7 separate regions of the Homo sapiens genome follow, and regions 1, 2, 4, 5, 6 and 7 are each linked to region 3. The links are contacts of gene promoters, found by promoter capture Hi-C in human tissues and cell types (Jung and others, 2019). All regions are on one chromosome and are shown on one strand. Each heading gives the region's core, a stretch centred on a gene start or on the middle of the fragment in contact. The rest is flanking DNA. Distances are from core to core; before and after follow the strand shown.

Region 1 (3,108 bases), core at 240-2,739, 230 kb after region 3:
GGTTAAGTCCCTTTGATACCCCAACAATTAATTAGAGCTACGGCCTTTGGCAAGTGTATTGCTTCCAATAGCTGAAGAATTTCAGGCCCAGGCTTTATAGAGGACTGTTTTCTAGTTAGAAATCCCTTTTCTTTCCAGACTGTAGCATGAACATGAACCACAAGGAATGCATATTTAGAATCGATATAGATGTTAAGCTTTTTTCCTTGTACCAACATTAATGCTCAAGTAAGAGCAATGATTTCAGCCTTTTGTGCTGATGTGCCAAGGAGCAGTGGCTGGGCTTCGATAATTACTACTGCATATCCAGCTCAGTGCTGTGTCAAACCCCATTTGACACAAAACTACTGCCATCTGTGAACCACTCATCCTCAGAATCTGGGAGAGGCTTGTCTTTTAAAGCAGGCTGGCTAACATTGTGTATGTGCAATGACCTGCTTGCAGGAATGATCAGTTATTGGGCCTGTGGGCAGCACTGAAGCTGGATTCAAAGTGTTGCAGGTTTTAAGGGTTACATCTGGATTGTCTAGGAACATGGCCTGGTATTTGGTTCATCTTTCCCCTGTCATCCAGATGTGTCCCTTTATCTCTAAGACAGACTTAACCTGATGAGGGGGTGAGAACTTCCAGTGGTTGGCTCAGAGCGATTTCAGTGGCTTCCTCCACTAACATAGCAGTGGCTGCTGTTGGCCGCAGGCAACTTGGTCACCTCGAGGCCACTCCATCCAACTTCTTTGGAAAGTCAGTGGTTAGTCTGGGTTCTGATCCTAATGTCTGGGCTAGTACACCCACAGCTATGCCCTTCTTCTCTGCTACGTACAAAGAGAAGGGCTTAGGTAGGTCTGGGATGCCAAGAGCGAGAGCCTGTTTTAACTTGGCAAAGGCTTTTCTCAATTCTGGGGTTCATTCCTTTAGCTCGTCTTCAGGCCCCTTTGTTGCTTCATATAGGGGCTTTGCTATGAGTCTGAAATTTGGTACCCATATTCTGCAAAACCTGGCCATTCCCAAAAAAGAACAAAGCTGCTACTAGGTGTGGCAGGTGGGGGGGTTGGGGAGGGGGCAGGGGGCAAACCACCTATGGCTTGCTCTCGTTCTGGGGATATTTGTCAGGCTCTGGGTGTTAAGACATACCCTAAATATTGCACCCATTGGAGGATAATCTGTGCCTTCTTGTCGGACACTTTGTATCCCCTGTCTGCCAGGAAATTCAAAGTTTTTATAGTAGTTTGGTCAGAAACCTCCTGGGTTTGGGCTACACACAAGAAAGTCATCCACATACTGGAGTATATTCCCATTTTTCACTTTCAGATCCTTCAGATCCCTCTCTAAGGCTCGGGCAATCCAATGGGGGCTATCCTGAATGCCCTAAGGGTGCACTGTCCAGGTATATTACTGTTTTTCCCTCATATTGATTTTCCCATTCAAAGGCAAAAAGGTATTGGGACTCTGGGGCCAGAGGGATGGAGAAGAAAGCATCTTTTAGGTCCAGGACTGAGAACCATTTTGCATCCCCTTGTACCTGAGCCATAAGGGTATATGGATCTGCCACCAGTGGGTGGACGGGGATAACAGCCTCATTAATTATTCTCAGGTCCTATACTAACCGGTATTCTCCAGTCCTATACTAACTGGTATTCCCCCAAAGGCTTTAGAACAGGTATTGCAAGGGGAATTACAGGATTTTAAGAGCCCATGTAATAAGTAATACCTCAATTATGGGTGCTAGGCCTTTTCTTGCTTCCTGCTTAATTGGATATTATTTTCAATTGGGAAACTAGCTGAGGTCTTTAAAATGTATTTTGACTGGCACTGCTGTTTTAGCCTTCCCTGGTTTTCCAGTATACCAATGCCAGCGGGTTAACCTATTTATTAATGTGGTCTGGAACACTGTATTTTTGACTATCAGCAATTTCAATGGGTGATGCTTAAATTGTAGTAGTGCCTCCATTTTAACCATAATATCTCTTCCCAACAGGGGGATTGGGCAGCTTGGTACTACTAGGAAATCCTGTTGGAAGAGTTGTTTCTCAAATTGACAAATCAAAGGAGGAGTAATGAATCTTGTTTGTCAACCCCATCAAAAAGTAGGCAAAGGATATGAACAGACACTTCTCAAAAGAAGACATTTATGCAGCCAACAAACATATGAAAAAATGCTCATCACTTGTTGTTAGAGAAATGCAAATCAAAATCACAGTGAGATACCATCTCACACCAGTTAGAATGGTGATCATTAAAAAGTCAGGAAACAGGCTGGTGAGGCTGTGGAGAAGTAGGAACATTTTTACACTGTTGGTGGGAGTGTAAATTAGTTCAACCATTGTGGAAGACAGTGTGGTGATTCCTCAGGGATCTAGAACCAGAAATACCATTTGACCCAGCAATCCCATTACTGGATATATACCCAAAGGATTATAAATCATTCTATTATAAAGATACATGCACATGTATGTTTACTGCAACACTATTTACCATGGCAAAGACTTGGAACCAACCCAAATGCCCATCAGTGATAGACGGGATAAAGAAAATATGGCACATATACACCATGGAATACTACGCAACCATAAAAAAGAATGAGTTCATGTCCTTTGCAGGAACATGGATGAAGCTGGAAACCATCATTCTCAGCAAACTAACACAGGAACAGAAAACCAAACACCGCATGTTCTCACTAATAAGTGGGAGGTGAACAATGAGAACACATGGACACAGGGAGGGGAACATCACACACCAAGGCCTGTTGGGGGGTTGGGGGCAAGGGGAGGAAGAGCATTAGGACAAATACCTAATCCATGTGGGACTTAAAACCTAGATGATGGGTCGATAGGTGCAGCAAACCACCATGGCACATGTATACCTATGTAACAAACCTGCACATTCTGCATATGTATCCCAGAACTTAAAGTAAAATAAAATAAAATAAAATAAAATAAAAACTCGTTTGTGGCTTCCATTCTATTCCCATAACACTTGTGGACTGGGAGGAACGCCTTACTGCATAAGCAGTAAGAACAGAGTAATTTGCTCCTGCATCAAAAAGAAACTGAATTTGGGTGCCCATGACGTCCAGAGTTACCTGGGGCTCCTCAGTAGTAATTACAATGT
Region 2 (3,121 bases), core at 323-2,822, 220 kb before region 3:
GAGTAGTGAGGTTACACATTCCCATAGTTCAAAGCTACCTAAAAATGGAAGTTTTAATTTCACTTCATTAAACACTTAGGAGCAGATTCCAGTAGTCTAAGTAAGACATCATTGGCTTTTAGGAACAAATGTGTCAACAACTGTTAAAGAATAGTTCCTTGTTATGAAACCTTAAAATTCTAGGACATATGATGTTTTAAGACATCTGAGTACAGGTAGCAGATTTAAACATACATAGCCACCTTCCTATCTATCAGTTGAGAACTAAAAACTAAAAAGCATTTTGATAACATGTCTAATTTCTTATATAGCATATCATTCAGGCAGGACCAGTAGTAGAGAAGGCAAAAAACAAATATTCCACCTTAGTTCTAAAACAGAAAATCTGAATATGAAAGACAGATAAGATTACAAGATATGGGCTGCTCTGGAAGGATCAACCAGGACCAATAAGTAAAAACTCTAATAACCAGTGTTGCCCTAAAATAGGATAAACCATTTGTGAGGGAATGAAACTACTGCCCCAAGGAGGGGTTCATGCATGAGCGGGAATGCCCGTGGGTGACGGAAGTATCACAAAGGCAAATGAACTAATGCCGTCAACAAACCCTCCAGTCTTCAGTGGGATGGATTTTCCATGTTGTAGACACTGTCAGCGAGTGCAGTTTCAAGTCAGGCAAAATGGAAGCTCGTGCATCTTTGATCGCGCAGGTGGTCTAAAGGGATGGCACAGAGGCCCAATATACCTAACCTGTAGAAGGCACATCTCACATCTCACCTATTGCAACAGTGATAAAAGTGAGGACACTGAGGCTTAAAGACGGTTAAAGACCAAAGTCACAGAGAACTAAAGTGTCTGAACTAGGACTTCTACTCTCACATCCCCAGACTTCAGATTAGAATTCTTTCTACTCTACCATGATGGTTTTCTGTCAGGTCCCAGAAGAACCTCAAATGCTCCCTACATATAGATGTGCTGAGTAAATAAAAGTTTTATATTTAGAGAGGAAAAAATAGAGATCAAAATGCCTGGCCAACTTCAGGGGGTCTGTGACATGGCTCTGATATGAACACCATGTCTTTTCTTCCAACTTCTAATCATGAAATATATTCAAACCAGCTGCTCCATCTAGTGGATTAATGGAAGATCCTCAGGATGAGAGAAAAGCACATTTTTAATACTGTTCAGCTCACACAACCCTAAAGCATTCATCTGCTATCCCATACCTCATATCCAAAATAGCAACACTAGAAAAGAGATTATGAAGATTACAAGCTTTCAGGAGTCAAGGATGAATTCATTCCAACTGGTTAAAACCATATTCCAAATTTGCTTCCTCCCTCATTTCCCCAGTTTCCCCCAACATAAGTACAGAGTCGGCAAAGCAGGTCACATCACAAGTCACTGAGGTAACAGCTCTCCAGTAGCACACCCAAGAGGTGTAACTCCAAACTGAAGCTGAAGCTCCCAGAGATTCCACAGCCCCTTGATATACTGTGTTTACTAATCATCTTAAGCCTAAGACCTTCTTTCCAAAGAGAACAATATGTGGTGGGAAAAACCCAGGCTCAGAAGTCAGCCAAAATTCCTGGTTCTGTCAGTTTCTGACTGTTGTAACCTTGAGTCAATCATTAAACTTCTGCCTCAGCTCCTCATCTGCAAAACATGGATAATGGCACACCCCTCAGGGGTGCCATGAGGATGGAGAGGTGACAAAAAGAATGCACCTAACACATTCCTGAAACACCGCAGCACTCAACGAACAGCAGAGACAGATAGGTGGACCTGAGTAGGCTCCAATTTAAGGGCCCTTTATCTGTTTTCCTTAATCTTCAAATTTCTATTTTAAAAAGGTAACAAAAATGGTGAGCAGAGTTGTTAGAAGACATAGAGATGCGTAATAATAAGGAACAGTGAAGGAACTGTGATTCGGTGTGGCCAGAACACAGGCAGTAAAGGTGGATGCCAGGAGTTGAGGTGAAACAGACAGGCAGTTCCTTGTAAGCCATATGGATGCATTTGGATGTCATCCAGCAATCAATGTGGAACCACCGGATTATCTTCCCATTACCCCAATCTGTCATATTCTAACACTGCTCCAAAACTTTCACAGTCACCTACTTCCTAAAGAATGAAGTGGAACAGTCTTAACAAGGTGGGTTTCTGAATCTGTGTTTCTGTCTTCTGTCTCAGCTTCCCATTTGGTATGTCAACTTTCATGTGCAGGTTTGCTCAAGACACGTGCTTTAAGATGCAGAAGAAAGATCAAATTCAATAACATTAATTATGAAACTTAAGTTGTGTCACAACTCTCAATCTCTCAAATTTGAATGAGCAGATTTAATATTAGTAAACATTCTGAACTCCAATCAAATGTAATGCAACACAAAACATGAATGAACACTATCAGAGACTGATGAATACCTCCCTCACCCCAACATCTATCCTTCCCTTTTGATATAGTAATAGCAGTGCTGGTGGGCCTCTGGCTACCCAGCCAAAAACTACATTTCTCAGTCTCTCTTGCACTGAAGTGTGTCTACTGGATTGGGTTCCAGTTAATGGGATGGTTAAAGTTAAAGCTAATGGGACGTGTTAAGTGATACGTGCAATTTTAAAGTCATGCACTTAAATGGGAAGGAGTACACCATTCCCATACCATCTCCCTTTTCTGCTACAAGGAAGTACTATGTGGAAAATGGCAGAGCAACAAGATAGAAGGAGCCTGGGACCCCAAAATGGTAGAGTCATCAATCAACCCTGAACTGTTTACACTTGGACTAAGAGTAAACCTAACTTCCATCCTTTATAAGGCATTGTTTTTTGATCTTTGTTAAAGTATATCCTAACTGTGATGCTTTCTTTTATGTGTCAACTTGGCTAGGCCACAGTACCCAGATATTTGGTCAAATACATGTGGATACTTCTGCGAAGGTAATTTTTAGATGAGATTAACATTAAATCAATAGACTGAGTAAAACAGATTGCCCTCCATAATCTGGGAGGGCCTCATCCAAGCAGTTGAAGACCTTAAGAAAAGGACCGACCTTTCCTGTGGAAGAAGAAATTCGGACAACAGACTCACTTTGAACTCCAATTGCAACATCAGCTCTTCTCTGG
Region 3 (2,893 bases), core at 254-2,753:
AATATGGAGGTGGATGAAAAGTTTCCTTCAAAAATGTCACTTTGCAGAGTGGGCTGTCTTGAAATCAGCCCAGAATTTCTCTTTAAGGAAAACTATGGGGGAGATTTGCTGTCTGTGGTCAGTGGCATCACGGGCTATTGATAATTAAGAATTAACTTGAGCAATTGCTGTGGTTAAACACAAGAAACGTGCCTGTCTGCCTTCCTTCCTTTCCCTTCCCTTCCCTTCCCTTTCTTCCCTTCTTCTCCTTCTTTCCTTCTCAAATATTTAGGTTAAATATGATTTAGGAGCATAATTCTATATATTTAAAAACATATTAAATTTTCCAAATATTGGTGTGACTAGAATATTAATTTCTATCAAATGAGGAAAGTGCTACAGAGAAAAATTATATCTCTAGTGTCATTCAAAGGAGAGTAATCTTGGAGGCTTAAATCTTATTTTTAACTGGAATGCATTCTTATTAAATAGTAGCAATTATAATATAAATGAAATTTTGTATTTGTTTTTCTTTTTTTAGTATTGCATCAGGACTCCCTTCACCTATCCTCATCCTTCAATTTTGTGACATAAGTCCTGTACTTACAAACCATCTTGAGTCTTTTTTCCCACGTTATGCTCAAGCTGTTTTTATGTAGCTTGTCACCAATACTTATATTCATTTGCTGACGTTTGAAAAAAAATGAGTGATGCATGTGTTTTAAAGGCATTATAGTATTGATTGTGCTCTGCAAACACAGAAATTTTTGGATAAATATTGAAAAGTGATTGACTTTAAAGTCAGCTTTTTAAAAGCTATAGATACCATGATTATCTGTAGCTTTTCTTTTCTTAAAAACCATTAAGTTATTTCATGAAACAATGTAATTGAAAACATGTGATGAACATTCCTAAATATACATATGATTTACCATAAACATTTTCTTTCCTTAAGTTGAAAAAAATTACATTTAGTATTAATGTAAAGCAATATTGAAAATAAATGTAAAATCATATTAATGTGGAAAGATGATTATATAGCCTATTTCAAGGTCTTTCACCAACATAGTTTGTTATGTTTATTTTTTTAATTAAATATATTTTTTTAATAGAGACGGGGTCTCACTATGGTGCTCCTGGGCACAACTGATCCTCCTGCCTTGGCCTCCCAAAGTGTTGGAGTTACAGGCGTGGGCCATTGCGCCCAGCCTGTATTATTAAAATGAAATGATTTTTGAAATGCAGTACATAAAGCATTACTTTTGACAATAATCATGAAGTTAATTAAATGCTGCTTACCTCCTGTCCATCAAAAGTCTGTGTGAGAGATGAGCATTTTTCAGCACTTCCACTTCTGTCGAAGGGATATCTTTGAGTTGCTTCTGTTAAAATAGCTCTTTCTGGAAACAGTGTATTTAAGAAATGTTGTATTTTGTTTTAGACTCTTTTGTTGCTTTAAAAAGTAGTTTCCAGTGTAACGCTTGGCGTCGGAGTTGGTGCTGGGCTGACTTTAATTGCTGCTTTGTCTCTTTCAGGAAGTGCTCTCTGAAATAGGCTTTTTCACCTTATGACTTTACCCTGGATGTGGTTTTTCTCTTTCACAAATGATTTGTTTATGAAGTCACACTTAGCATAAGCTCCCCTTGAAATGATGGCATATATTTAAGATAATTATATACAAAGGATAAAGTTTCTTCAGTTTGTGTACTTTGATGCTTGAAGTCTGCATCATCTATGGAAAGAGAAGATTTGATATTGAGTAAAAGGGGGTTTAAAGTCTAGCTTCTTTGCTTTATAAGCTATGTGACTTTGTCTAGTTACCTACCCACTCTGACTAACCCTTTGTTCCTACTTCATTTCTGTACAGTTGAAATAGAGATAATACTATATCCAGTAGGATTGTAGGGGCCCTAAACCAGAAAGATCCCAAGTGCTTAATAGTACCTGGCACTTAGTAGGTACTCCTAAATGGAGTCTCACTTTTTACTACCAAGTTATTAAAAATCATAGAATATCCACATTTCCACTTTTTACTATTTAAACATTTCTAAATGCTTAAAAGTAGGATCCTTGATTAATTGCTTCTGCTTTGCCACATACATTTATCCACTTTAGTTTGCTGTATTTTGTAAGTCTGCTTTTCTAGTGCGTGGAAGTCTAGAAATAATTTCTTTTGCATAAAAATTTCTGCAAATCTTAGCAGAAAGGACTCTGAAGTCTTTAGTGGACTGATTTACATATTAAGAGTGTTTTCACCTAAGAAGGGAAATGAAACCAGCAGAAAGGGAAGTGAGCAACGAATCGCTGCCTGCCTTGTTAGGTTAATTTTGTTTTACTTTCTCATTTCTTAAAAAAAATTATCTCTCATTTGCTTATCCTAAAATTTTAATTATCTTTATGTTTGGTTATGCATGGTTTGTCAACTTTTTAAAGGGTTCATGAACTTAAATGTATTTGTTTTTTTGAATTTTAGACAGTTTGGGGTCCATCCTTTTTTTTTTTTTTCTCAGACAAAACCATAGTAAATCTGTGGCTTAGAAAAGTTACTTAAATCCTTGCCTTTGGTGATAAAATACTTTTGATTGTTACAACCTGCCAGAATGATGGGTTTTAGAAGTGTTGGAGACAACCATAGCAACTATTTCTTGTGTGGATGAAGAAATTGAAGGCCAGTTACTTGCTTAAGAACTCAAGGTAAAGCCAGGTCCAGTTTCTCCCGCTGTAATAACTTCTTATGAGGTAATTATATTGATCTGTCCACTAGATAGGACTTCTTATGGCTGAATCACATTCATCAGTTTTTTATATGTGATGTTATATTTCATTCATCACACAGGAGTTTGATGTTTCAGCTGGACAGAAATCTGCCTGCATGCAGACCTAATCTGTCCTTTGCCTTATTCACATAGCTTAG
Region 4 (3,178 bases), core at 261-2,760, 180 kb after region 3:
TATCAAAAGAAAGCATACAAATGGCCAACAGGTCTATGAAAAATTGTTCAACATCACTAATCATTAGAGCAATGCAAATTAAAGCCACAGGGAGCACCACCTCACACCTGTTAGAAAGGCTATTACCAAAGAGATGAAAGATGTGTTGGTGAGGATGTGGACAAAAAGGGAACCCTTGCACACTCTTGGTGGAAACGTAAATTTGTACAGCCATAATGGAAAGCAGTATGGAGGTTCCCAAAAAATGAAAAATAGAATGGATATGATCTGGCAATCTCACTACTAGGTATATATCCAAGGACAACAAAATCAGTATCTTGAAAAGATACCTGCATTCCCATATTTATTGCAGATACTTGTTGCCCTCTTCCAAGGGCTCTAGGGGAGGATCCTTCCTGACCTCCTCCAGCTAAGCTTGTGGCCACGTGGGCTTGTCACTCTGACCTCTACCTCATCTTCACATCACCTTCTCCTCTGTGTGTCCTCACATCTTCCTCTGCCTCTCTCTTAAAACAACTCTTGTGATGACATCCAGGGCTTATCTGGCAATAAGACGGGACGCTCTCCTCATCCAAAGGTCCTTAGTCACATCTGCAAAGACCTTTTCCCGAAATAAGGCCACATTTACAGGATCCATGGACTATGATGTGGACTTACCTTTGGGGAGCCATTTTTCAGCCTACCACGTGTGGGACGCAACAGACAAGCTGCGCTCGCTTGAGCTGAGACTTGTTGGAGCTGTTCACCCTCCCCAGGGCTGGAATCAGAGGTGAGGCTGACAGCACGAGGACAAGAGGCTTTTGACAGGACAAAGTGGGACAGAACTGTGCACCTTTGGCCAAAACAGCAGAACTGGCATGATAACCATGCAAGCAAGTCTCTGCAATGTGAAGGACTGCGCAAATGTTCCTACTCAAGTGCACCTACTCAAGTGTGGCACTGGCTTGATTCATTTCTGCAGGAGAGAGCCAGTTACCACTTACCAGTTCTGTCCAGGGAGGCATAATTAAGATAACCTGGGATTGACAGCTGCTACAGCTTCTTCTACACGGGTTTGCTTTTCACTCACCTTTGACGTTACTGGAATAATTGCAGCAGGTGCCTGCCTGGTCGTCAAATCTTGTCCCCAAAGGGCAAATCTGCCCGTGCTCCATCGTATCGGGGACATCAGTGGCTCCCAGTGCCCACCGTCCTTCTACAGTGCTACAGGGTAGCGCTTCTTTACACTGGCAACCCCTTAGTTTCTTAGTCCCCTGCTTATGGGAAGTGGGGATTTGAAGACACGAGGGGCAGAAAGACAGACTTTCATAGCATCGTAACACACTGCTGTTGAAAGTCAGTGAATATTAGACAGAGGAGGGTTTATGGTGCGAGATTCTCCACTCTGGGACACCGGAAGCTCTGAAGACTTCGGACCAGAGCAGCCCTTCCGTGATGGTGCTGGATCGACCCCTGTTCTGTGCTGGCTACGTAACCACTGGCTGAATGGATAAATGTATCAAAGACAAGCTAGTAACAGCATTCGTAATTCAAAAGTACTACCAAATTGTGATCAGCTTACTGCATATGGTTATGCATTGATGTCGTCCAAAATTCGGAAGGTGCAGAAGGATGCACGCCCCTCCCCCAGGTCTTGGTAGTGGCAACCAGTGTCACCAGCATCACGTGTATCCTCGCAGGATATCTTCTGCATCTATGAGCAAAAACGTGCACGCACCGCTGCTTTTTTCATTCTTGATAGCTTAGAAATCATTCCGTAGGAGGGAGGGGCATTCAGGATGCTACCCCAAAACATGTACCTTGGCATAGTGAATATTTTAAGCTGAAGGAATTTGAGAACTGGTAAGTAGAGAAAGGGTTCCCTGACTTTCCCCTGAAGCAGGTCAGGAGACCCTCATGTGAGAGGGAGACAGGGGGACCCCAGGAACAATCTGAATGCACAGACCTTGCTAACTTTCCCCCAGTTTACTACTCTTAGCTCATACCTTTTCTGTCCTACCACATTTTTCTATGACTCAGCATTCTATCAAATCAAGGCTAGAAACACTCAGGTTTAAGCATTTCTTCAGGTCCCTATTTCCTTATGAAGGCTCCCATGTCAGGTAACATTTAAATAAATTTGTATTCTTTTCTCTTGTTCATCTGTCTTTTGTTACAAGGGCCCCAGCTGAGAACCTAGAAGGGTAGAAGGAACATATTTTTCCCCCACCTACAGTAGTGTTTTAAAGGAATTCCTTTATTCTTTTTTTCTTTTACAGTTGCCTATTGTTTCACTGTATAGCTGTGCTATGTGGACATTTTGTTTCCAGCCTTTTGCAAGCCAAAGAGCAATTAATTACCTTTTCAAAATAATATTCATTCATGCAAGGGTATCTGCAACAAAAAGAAGTGGATTTTCAAAAGGTTTCAAAAGGTATGTGTATTTGCAATTTTGATAAATATTGCCAGAATGACTGCCAAAGAGGTTATACCAATTTACACCCTCCCCCTGCAAGAAATAAGAGTTGCCAACAGAGTATATTATCAAATGTTTTAATCTTTGCCAATCTAATAGATAAAAATGACATGAGTATAATTTTAATTTGTACTTTTCTTATGAGTAAGATTGCACATCTCTTTATATGTTTAAGACCCTTTTGTACCTTGTATCTGTGAGTAGGTAGGTCATTTCCTTTGACCATTTTGTTGTTGTTCTTTTTTTCTTATTGGTTTGTATCTAGAGCTCCTTATCTACTAGGGAAATTAAGCCTTTGCTGGAATATTTGTAGAATGAAGTAGAAATTACACAATGTTTAAGCATTTAAAATGTTTCTTCTCTCATTTTGTGTATAGTTAATTGTAATAGCATAATTGATTATGCAAGGTCGTTTTCTTATTTATTTCTGGAGATTAGATCAATCCATTGATTTTAAATGTGGTACACTTTCCCAAGTTTCATTTTTGCATGAGTTAAATCTTTTTGTGGTGCTTAACTTGCGTTCTCTGAGATTTTATTAATATTTTGGCTCATGCTGTTTCCACCACCTGACATATGTCCTGATGGGACCCATCCTCCCAGCATCCTAAACCCAAACCAAGCCCCCCGGCCTTCCTAAAACGTGCCCCACTGCTCCCATCCACACAGTCTCTCCCTTCTCTGGGCCTCTGGAGGGATGAAACACTGAAATTCATGCCACAA
Region 5 (2,902 bases), core at 121-2,620, 250 kb after region 3:
TTAGATGAAAGATTAAGATTTTTTTTCCTTTGCTGTAAGGAAAAATGACCAATTATACCCCCTAGTGGTTAAAAACAATGTTTAAATGAATTAGTTTAACAACTTTTTAATAAAAAGGAAAATTACTCAGTCATACTTTCCTTTCTTGGTAGTTATTTTTAGAAGCATTTTATAAGTTGTGTTTGTTATTCTGGGAGCAGTTGTGTATAAATATTGGAATGAGTCAGCTTTAAGAAAATAGTCCTGAATGTTGATCTGAACGGACACAGAATGAATATATATGTACCTGTTTTAATTTGACCATAGAAGTAGTTTGAAGATTTTGAAATACTTAAAGAAAAAAAATCTGTATGTGTATTTATTGGTATAGTGATAAATATTTATCGATATGTAGTTTCACATTCTCACAGTTCTCTCTGGAATAAGAGCATTGATTCTTAGCTTCTGGGAACTCATTAGTGTTTGGGTGTTGCTCTTTCAAATCTGAAATCTGGCACTGGAAGGACTTACTTTGACTATGGTAAATATACATTCCAGCAATTGTTTCTTCTTCTTCTGAAAAGGTATGTTAAACTGAGATAGTTTGCCTTTCAGAAATTAGATTTTTAAGTAAAATTAAGACTGTAATTGTTCATTATAGTGAATCTGAGAGTTAGAATCAAGAAAGCAACAAAAGTCTATGAATAAAATTGTGTCTTTCTGCCTGTGGCCCCTCACCAAAGTGGGTGTAAACTTGAACTTCCAAAGGTGTAAACTGGAACGTCTGAAACAAATCACAGATATATGTTCCACACCTCACACCCCCAACACAAACACACAGACACACATCGGCACTACAGAGATTGGTCTGTGCACTGTCAGCCTTAGAGCCCAGCTGCCCAAACCCTTACTTCCCTATTCTCTCCTGTAGCTTCCTGTCACCATGGTCTCTCAGTAAGTTTTGTAGTTAATTTTAGCTGCTTTACATGTATCCAACAATTTCATTCTATTTTCATTAAAATTAACTATCTATGAAAGGCTTTGGAGGAAATTTGTGAATTTTTTCTCTTTTTGCTCCTCTTCTCACTTTTCAAACCTGTTTATTGCCCTTTGCTAATAATAATGGTAAAGACTACGATTTGTGTGTGTTGTATATGCCTTAGCTAAATTTCATAACATCTCTGTGATATTTAGATGAGGAAACAGAAGCTCAATAAGATTTAGTAGCTGTCTCAAGTGTACAAAGCTAGTAAGTATTAAAGCCAGAATGCAAACAAGCCCAAGACTGAGTCCAAAAAGCCTAGGCTCTTCGCCACTGCCTTCTACTCTGAGCACTCTTCTTCTTGTTTGCCTTTCCCCTGGGGATCCCTGACCGCTTATCACCCTGGACTTTGACAGTTCCAGAAAACACTCTGTATCTATTATATGTAATTTTCATTTTATTTTATTTTTTAGAAACAGTCTTGCTCTGTCACCCAGGCTAGAGTGCAGTGGTGCAGTCATAACTCATTGCAGCTTTGATGTGTCTGTGTAATTTTTAAGTAGTCAGGTTTTATATTTACTTCTTTCGTTGATATAGTCTAAAATTGAAATTGTATTTTTCAGGGCTTTGGGGAAAGAACCCTGGTAATTATCTAGGAGATCAGTTGCTGGGCATTGCTGATCGGATAACTCAGAGCTCATAAATAAGCATTTGTGAGTCCCAGCATTGCTTTTGAGACTTTTATTGTGCCTGAGTTAAGACTTCCCTTCTTCAGGAAGGCGCCACTGTGGACTGCTCTAATATTAAGGAGTTGAAGCTTCCATAGATTTCCTTTTTTATGGCCTCCATATCTCAAACCCTTTTGTGACTTGTCATTTGCCATGACCCTTGTACAGTCACATCTCTTCACTGAAATTTCTTTCTCCCTTGAAAATCCAGTTGTAAGTGTGGGGTGGGACAGATGTGATGATAGCAGAATAAGGTGGGAATAAAAGCAGAAACGAACTAGGAAATGGGAAAAAGTGTAGTCCTGTGGCATGGCCCGTGTGCCTTGTTAAAACAAAAAAATAGACTAGTTGTGACCATAGCTGGGATCAGGTATGGAACTGGCAGATTAGGACTAGAAATAAAATTGTACATTTAGGAGAGAAATTTAAAAGGAAGACTGTAGAGTTCTAAATAAAACCACTTCTATAAAACATTTCATAGTACAGGATTGTAATCAGTCTTGCTTTCTCTAAGTGACATAGGATTCTGCAACTTCCTTAAAATGTTTCATGTTGTCAAAATTTTGCATGCTTGAAATAACCTAGGTGGGGACAGTTTGAAAGTGGGAATGTGAAGCAAGTAAACCTTGAAGTTCTTTCTAGTCACATCAGTGATAATCTAGAGTCATCTGTCTCTATTTAAGGCAAATTTCTGGGAGGAGATGGACTTAACTCTTTTGGATGGTGAATAAAGATGTTTAGAGTGGGAAAAAAAAGGCAAACAAAACACACACACACACACACACACACACACACACACACACACCCCAGAGATTCAGTAGCTACTCCAAGAACATATAAATAAGTGCTGTCATTTTTTTTTTAATATATGCTGTATTAGGCTGTTCTTGTGTTGCTGTAAAGAAATACCTGAGACTGGGTAATTTATAAAGAAAAGATGTTTAATTGGCCCACAGTTCTGCAGGCTGTACAAGCATGGCACGGACATCGCTCGACTTCTAGTGGGAACCTCAGGAAATTTTTACTCATGGCAGAAGGTGAAGCAGGAGCAGGCATGTCACATGGTAAAAGCAGGAGTGAAAGAGTTTTCTGTTGAGCGAGATGCCACACTTTACAACAAGCAGATCTCACAAGGACTCACTCACCATCATGAGGGCAGCACCAAGGGAGTGGTGCCAACCCATTCATTAGACATCTACCCCCATGATCTAGT
Region 6 (3,030 bases), core at 214-2,713, 200 kb after region 3:
ATTTTAAGCAAAAGGCATTTCAGTTCAACAGTTAGAGAAAAAAAAAAAAAAAGCCTTCTTAGAGCTTCTCTTATCTGACTAAAAGCAGCAACTTCTGGAAAATAACGCTGTCATAAATGCTTCTTCAGGGTGGATCTACTTCAAGAAAAGAGACCGTGAATAAACCGACCCCAAATCCTCTCTCCAGGGAAGTTTCATTGTCCTGAAGGAGACATGAAAGAGGAGGCATATCACTCATAACTGTATAGAAAAACATTATCACAAACTTCCTTATCTCCTGTTTGTTCTCCTCAAAACCCATTTATCTTTTTTTTTTTTTTTTTGAGACAGGGTCTTGCTCTGTTGCCCAGGCTGAGTGCAGTGGCGTGATCACAGCTCACTGCAGCCTCAACCTCCCAGGCTCAAGCAATTCTCCCACCTCAGCCTCCCAAGTAGCTGGGACCACAGAAACGTGCCGCCATGCCTGGCTAATTTTTGTATTTTTTGTAAAGATGGGATTTCACTGTCTTACCCAGGCTGGTCTTGAACTCCTGGGCTCAAACGATCCTCCCATCTCAGCCTTCCAAAATGCTGGGATTACAGGAGTGAGCCACCACACCCAGCCCCATTTACCTCTCTGAAAAGTCGTTGTTTTCACATAAGTGCCTTTCTTTTCCTACTCATTCCCTTCTAAGGTGGTATGTAAGCCTGTCTATCCACTCCTTTGAGTTAGTCACTCACCGAAATCAGAGTTACGTACTGACTTCTGTGTGTATATGAATTACATGCATAAATAAACTCTCACGTTTTCCTCTTTTTAATCTGTCTTTGTCAGTTTAATTCACAGGCCTCAGGCATGGAACATGAAAGAATAGAGGAAAAAGTTTTCCTCTGCTACCAGAGCCATTTGTTATTACAGCAAACTGATACAAAAACTGGTGGGCCTGAATTTCCGCTTATGCTTGCTGAGAGAAATTTATGTTCTGAAATGGCCTTGGTCAGATGTTCCTCCAGCTTATAAATTAAATATGGGTAATGTTCTTTCCTTTCTGGTGAAGAACAAATAGGATGAACAAACTGTGTCTGTTGTGTTGGTATTAAGTCACAGTAATACATCTTCTTTTTCAGAAGATAAGTTATACATACTGCAGTAAGAAAAGACACTGGATAATATTTGGCAAATTTTGGGAGAAACTTCTCCATCTAAACATTATTCTTCCTTTGCAGTTTTAATGTTTCTGTTAAAGAATAAATAAGAAAGTGCTCATTAAATGTGCTTGAAACCCTCACTTAGAATTATGACTGGAAGTCCCATGGCCAATTGTAAGGGCCTAGGTTGGCAAAGAGAAATCAGTCCCTCCCCATGCCCTCCAGTTTTTAGGAGATGCGGTCTTGCTCTGCCTCATGCAAGAGGCTGTTCCCCCATGCTGTTCTCGTGATAGGGAGTGAGTTCTCACAAGATCTGAGGGCATTTTAGAGGGCTGTTTCCCCTTCGCTCAGCACTTCTCCTTCCTGCTGCCTTGTGAAAAAGGTGCCTGCTTCCCCTTCACCTTCTGTCATGATTGTAAGTTTCCTGAGGCCTCCCCAGCCATGCTGAACTGTGAGTCAATTAAAGCTCTTTCCTTTATACATTCCCCAGTCTCGGGCAGTTCTTTATAGCAGTATGAAAATGGACTAATACAGTGGGAGAATTGCTTGAGCCCAGAAGTTTGAGACCAGCCTGGGAACATGAAAAAACCCTGTCTCTACAAAAATTACAAAACTTAGCTGGGCATGGTGGCATGTGCCTGTAGTCTCAGCTATTTGGGATACTGATGCAAGAGTCTTGCTTGAGCCCAGGAGGTCAAAGCTACAATGAGCCATGATCACGCCACTACACTCCAGCCTGGGTGACAGAGAGAGACCCATGACTTGATGCTTGTTATGCCTGCGTGATGGGTACGTGGAGAGTTCTTGTATATTCTCCCAATTTATGTGTAATTTAAATCTTTCCATGAGAGAGAGAGAAAAAAAATAGGCCTATTTCAGAGAAGGGAGTCATCTGATTTGACAAATGTTTAAAACAACTGAGTAAACTTCTTAACTTACTGAACCTCAGTTTATTCATCTATGATATGGGATTAATGATAACTATTTCACTGAAGAGTATTTTAATAAGAGAGTGCAAGGACAATACCCCTTTGTCCACATAATAAATACCTGTTTGTAATGAGACTTTTTTGCTTTGGTTACTTAAATAACCCACTAAGTATTTGATATCTCCAGGTAGGAAGTCTGCTGTTGCAACTTGATTGCAATAAATCATTTGGATTTGGGCAGCTTGCTATTTTTAATATAAATATGTGATTGGCTCCTGGCTTAGTATTTTAAATGGCCAGTGGATATTTTTTCCTGGACATCTCCAGCCCATAGTTGTCTGCCTATTCTCTATGAATTTGTAACCCCAGCCCCGCTGCTTTGTAGACCTCTCTTTAGAAGGATAAGGGCCACACTCAGCCCTCTCATAAGAGGGAAGACCCAAAGGCCATCTCAGCAGCACAGCCCATGGACATCTGCATTGCTACATTGAAACTGCTGAGGTTCGCTGGTCAATGCAATGATCCTCCACTGACCAGAGGAGGGGGGACATGAGTTCCCTGAGGACCCCTGAATCCCTGTCCACCATCAGCATGCATGAGCAGGCTTTGGCTCCTGATGGTTAGAAGTTGTAACCTTTAACTGCCTTGTTTGGAAATGAATTCTTCCCATATTTTCCCACTGGCTCTTGGAAGGATGAAAAATCATTTTGAAGGGAAAGAACCTGCTTATAATTTCACTTTGCAACTAGAAATGTATTTCTTTACTCAGACAAATGCAGATAAATTGGGAAATAACTTATTGGGAAAGAACTTAATGCTGTTCTCAATCCATGTGCGTTTTCTTTCTGAGTTCTCTCAGGTGTTTAAGCTTTCAGAATATGTAGTGAAAGGTGGCTTATGCCTGTAATCCCAGCGCTTTGGGAGGCCGAGGTGGGCAGATCATGAGGTCAGGAGTTCGAGACCAGCCTGACCA
Region 7 (3,155 bases), core at 36-2,535, 240 kb before region 3:
CCAGACAGCCACACTGCTGCAGATGCTGCTGGGAGGCACAAAGAATGTTCATCTGCTGCAAGAAATCGCTCTCCCAGAATGCTTAGCCTAGCATCTATATTAGCAAACATCTCTTTCCTTGACCTAAATATGCTGTTTATTTAATCCTGCATCAGCGGGAAACAGAGAAGCAAAGGAAAAAAAAAAGTCCAAAAAACGAGTGAAATCTCTAAGATGACTGCTGCTATGGAAACACATGCAAGCCCACTTCAAACAATCTTTTGCACGTATGGATAACAGCTTGCTGACAGCAAACCACAAGGGAACACAACATTGCTGTGTCGATCTTGACTTCAGCCCACCTCTACTCTTTGCTAGAGAGGGCTAGCAAGATTGCACTGCTTAAAAGGATTCTCCCGTCTCTGGTACCCAAAGATGCAAATGAGAACATGAATAAAGGGCTACCCAGTCTGGCTAGATGCATGCCTTCTGAAGCAGCACTCCAGTATGCAATGGGAAATACATGCTGAGGTCTCACAGTCAGCATGATTATGTTTGGTGTGTAAGTAATCCAACTCCTTCTACTGTAGACTGAACTCAGTGACACTACACTACCTCACGTGAATCTCTGGGAATGGCTAACAGGGAAGCTTGTCAATGATATGATACCAAGTTGACTCTTGCCATTTTCCTTCTTCAACAATGAAAGGCTAACTATATAAAAAGACCATGCTGCACATACAGGAAAACTTTTCCCAGCCACAATATGTAACTAGGAAAAAAGTGATCAATCTTTTAAAATCTGCTCTGATATTATTCCTTATTTCACAAGGCAACAGATAATTTCATTTCTCTCTATAGATGTGAAAGTTAGAGTGAATTAACTGACTGAGTACCTGGGGGCTGTGTAAACCCACGCATGTAGTAAAATCATACCTGTAGGGAATACCATCCGGGCACGTGATCCCATAATGTCTGTTTTCTATGAGTAGTTTAGCCATTGGGCCCCACAGAAAACCAAAAATCTAGGCTTATTCTCTCTCCTGTATTTTTATGCAAAGTGTGTCTGATAGCTGTACAAGATCAAAGATGGGGAGATGTTGGCCACATGCAAAAAACAGGATGACCCTCTGGGGTCTAGAGCATTCCACTTCCAAAGGGTGATTCTGTGAAAACAGAGCTATAGGGTTCAAGATTACACCCAAGTTGTGACACTAGGAGAATCTTCATGCGAAATCACAATGCTGACAGATAAACAACTAGAAACTCACCTACCCAGAAACTGAATATTGGAGACTATAAAACACTAAACACATAAGTTAAATGTCAGTTTTGAGAATTCAGAAAATCTACCAATTAACCTGACTCCTATACAGCAAGAGAAATAGCTTTAAAAGCAATAGTTCATTCAACAGAAATAAAGAGAGTACCTGGAAATGTAAAATTAATTTGTTATTGTTATGACATATTTTAGACATCCTGCCTGCAGAAGCCAGGGAATATTATTTGAGATACAAAAGATTACGTTTGAACTTTACCGAGAATTAGAAATAACCAAGCAAATTGGAAGCTGCTGGTATATGCTGTTTGATTTACTTTTAGAACCCTCCATTCGTGTTTAAAACAAGAGTCTAAATCAGGAGTGTCCAATCTTTTGACTTCCCTGGACCACACTGGAAGAAGAATAATTGTCTCGGGCCACACATAAAATATACTAACACTAATGATAGCTGATGAGCTTTAAAAAAAATCACAAAAAATCTCATAATGTTTTAAGAAAGTTTACGAATTTTTGTTGGGCCACATTCAAAGCCAGCCTGGGCCACATGTGGCCTGAGGGCTGCGGGTAGGACAAGCTTGGTCTAAATGGTCTCACCACAAAAAAATAAAGAAAAAAGGTAACTAAGTGAGGTAATAGGTGTGTTAGCTAACTCAATTGTGGTAATCATTTCACAACATATATCATCATATTGTATACCTTAAATTTATACAATTTTGCCAATCATATCTCAATAAAGCTAAAAAAGATAAATAAAAGTAAAAGCTAAATTTTAAAAAAACAATAAGAGAGAATGAAACAATTTCCTAACTCATTCAAAGGAAAAAGCAATGTTTTCTGGAGATAAATTAATAAAATGTTACAGTTTGAATGTGTCCCCCAAAGTTCATGAGTTAGAAACTTAATCTTCAATGGACAGTGCTGGGAAGTGGGACCTTCCAGTAGTGATTAGGGCAGAGCCTCACTGATTAATGGTGTTCTCAAGAGTGGGTTTCTAATAAAAGAATGAGGTCAGTCCCCTTTCTCTCTCTCACTCTTGCATGTTCTCTTTTCCTTCCACCTTTCACCTTCCACCACAGGATGATGTGGTATGAAGACCCTTACCAGCTGCTGCTGCCATGCTCTTACATCTTCCAGACTCTAGAATAGTGGGACGAATAAATTTCTGTTCATTACAAATTACCCTGTTTGTGGTATTCTGTTATAGCAGCAGAAAATGGACCAAGACATATACACATTGAAGCAACTTGTGCCAAATTTTAAGTATTAGTCATTTTCCAACCAACAAAATTAGTGGGCTCTTGAAAAGCAACAGAAAATATTTAGAGTGAAGTATTCAGAAACAGGTCTCATGATAATAGAAGCAAGACAAAATGAGTAATTCAAAAGGTATGTTTGGTTTCACTGACTTTTCTGTATCAGAATGAACTTGAGTTGTTCTAAATTGAAAATTACCATGAATTTCATCAGAGGACATGAATAGATGGATGGTATCTATTGGCAACCAGTGTAGCCACCTAAAAGAGTATATATTTCAATTTGGAGATCACATTTACTCTCCCATCTTTAAATGTCACTTCTAATTTATACAGCTCCTAAGACTAAATGTCTGCCTTTGAATCCCTTTTGAGATGCAGGCCCAGGTCTTCCTCTCCTGCTAATACTGACACCTGACTCTCCTACCATCTCACCCTCAGATGTTCCAAATGAATCATCCTTTAAAATGACAAACTCATATGGCACATCCACACAATGGAGTATCATTCAATCACAGGCAGGAACAAAGTACTGATGCATGCCACTACACGAATGGCCCGAAAACCATTATGTGAAGGAAAGAAGCCAGGCACCAAAGACCCCATATTGTATTACTGAAAGGAAATTTCCAGAACAGACA

The links. The method cuts DNA at HindIII sites, captures the fragments that hold promoters and counts their contacts. A contact is called where the count stands out against the background at its distance.
Region 1: a fragment that was not itself captured here is called in contact with the fragment with the promoter of GPR18 in region 3 in 3 of the 25 tissues and cell types used here (dorsolateral prefrontal cortex, lymphoblastoid cells and spleen).
Region 2: a fragment that was not itself captured here is called in contact with the fragment with the promoter of GPR18 in region 3 in 2 of the 25 tissues and cell types used here (bladder and dorsolateral prefrontal cortex).
Region 4: a fragment that was not itself captured here is called in contact with the fragment with the promoter of GPR18 in region 3 in 8 of the 25 tissues and cell types used here (IMR-90 fibroblasts, heart right ventricle, liver and 5 more).
Region 5: a fragment that was not itself captured here is called in contact with the fragment with the promoter of GPR18 in region 3 in 2 of the 25 tissues and cell types used here (lymphoblastoid cells and spleen).
Region 6: a contact is called between a fragment that was not itself captured here and the fragment with the promoter of GPR18 in region 3, in 2 of the 25 tissues and cell types used here (lymphoblastoid cells and spleen).
Region 7: a fragment that was not itself captured here is called in contact with the fragment with the promoter of GPR18 in region 3 in 3 of the 25 tissues and cell types used here (dorsolateral prefrontal cortex, spleen and thymus).

What each region holds. Positions count from the first base shown.
Region 1 is chr13:99,489,364-99,492,471 of GRCh38, forward strand. The region is part of intron 4 of LINC01232 (long intergenic non-protein coding RNA 1232); the gene reads right to left. Among named protein-coding and RNA genes, the nearest start is that of LINC01232, 8.4 kb to the right of the region's middle. The HindIII fragment of the contact is 8,464 bases long and covers 1-3,108 here.
Region 2 is chr13:99,032,886-99,036,006 of GRCh38, forward strand. It overlaps a transcript of DOCK9 not described here. Among named protein-coding and RNA genes, the nearest start is that of DOCK9-DT, 52 kb to the right of the region's middle. The HindIII fragment of the contact is 7,887 bases long and covers 1-3,121 here.
Region 3 is chr13:99,256,876-99,259,768 of GRCh38, forward strand. GPR18 (G protein-coupled receptor 18) reads right to left here and starts at 1,504. Exons shown (of 2, transcript NM_001098200.2): 1 at 1,279-1,504. The region is part of intron 4 of UBAC2 (UBA domain containing 2); the gene reads left to right. It overlaps LOC124903198 (a long non-coding RNA gene), which reads right to left. Exons shown (of 3, transcript XR_007063846.1): 3 at 1,564-1,711. The HindIII fragment of the contact is 6,968 bases long and covers 1,491-2,893 here.
Region 4 is chr13:99,438,381-99,441,558 of GRCh38, forward strand. No RefSeq gene overlaps it. Among named protein-coding and RNA genes, the nearest start is that of LNCARGI, 7.2 kb to the left of the region's middle. The HindIII fragment of the contact is 6,232 bases long and covers 1-3,178 here.
Region 5 is chr13:99,505,951-99,508,852 of GRCh38, forward strand. All of the region lies in intron 1 of TM9SF2 (transmembrane 9 superfamily member 2), which reads left to right. Among named protein-coding and RNA genes, the nearest start is that of TM9SF2, 5.9 kb to the left of the region's middle. The HindIII fragment of the contact is 3,611 bases long and covers 1-2,902 here.
Region 6 is chr13:99,459,547-99,462,576 of GRCh38, forward strand. No RefSeq gene overlaps it. Among named protein-coding and RNA genes, the nearest start is that of LNCARGI, 28 kb to the left of the region's middle. The HindIII fragment of the contact is 7,653 bases long and covers 1-3,030 here.
Region 7 is chr13:99,016,024-99,019,178 of GRCh38, forward strand. It overlaps a transcript of DOCK9 not described here. Among named protein-coding and RNA genes, the nearest start is that of DOCK9, 40 kb to the left of the region's middle. The HindIII fragment of the contact is 3,780 bases long and covers 1-3,155 here.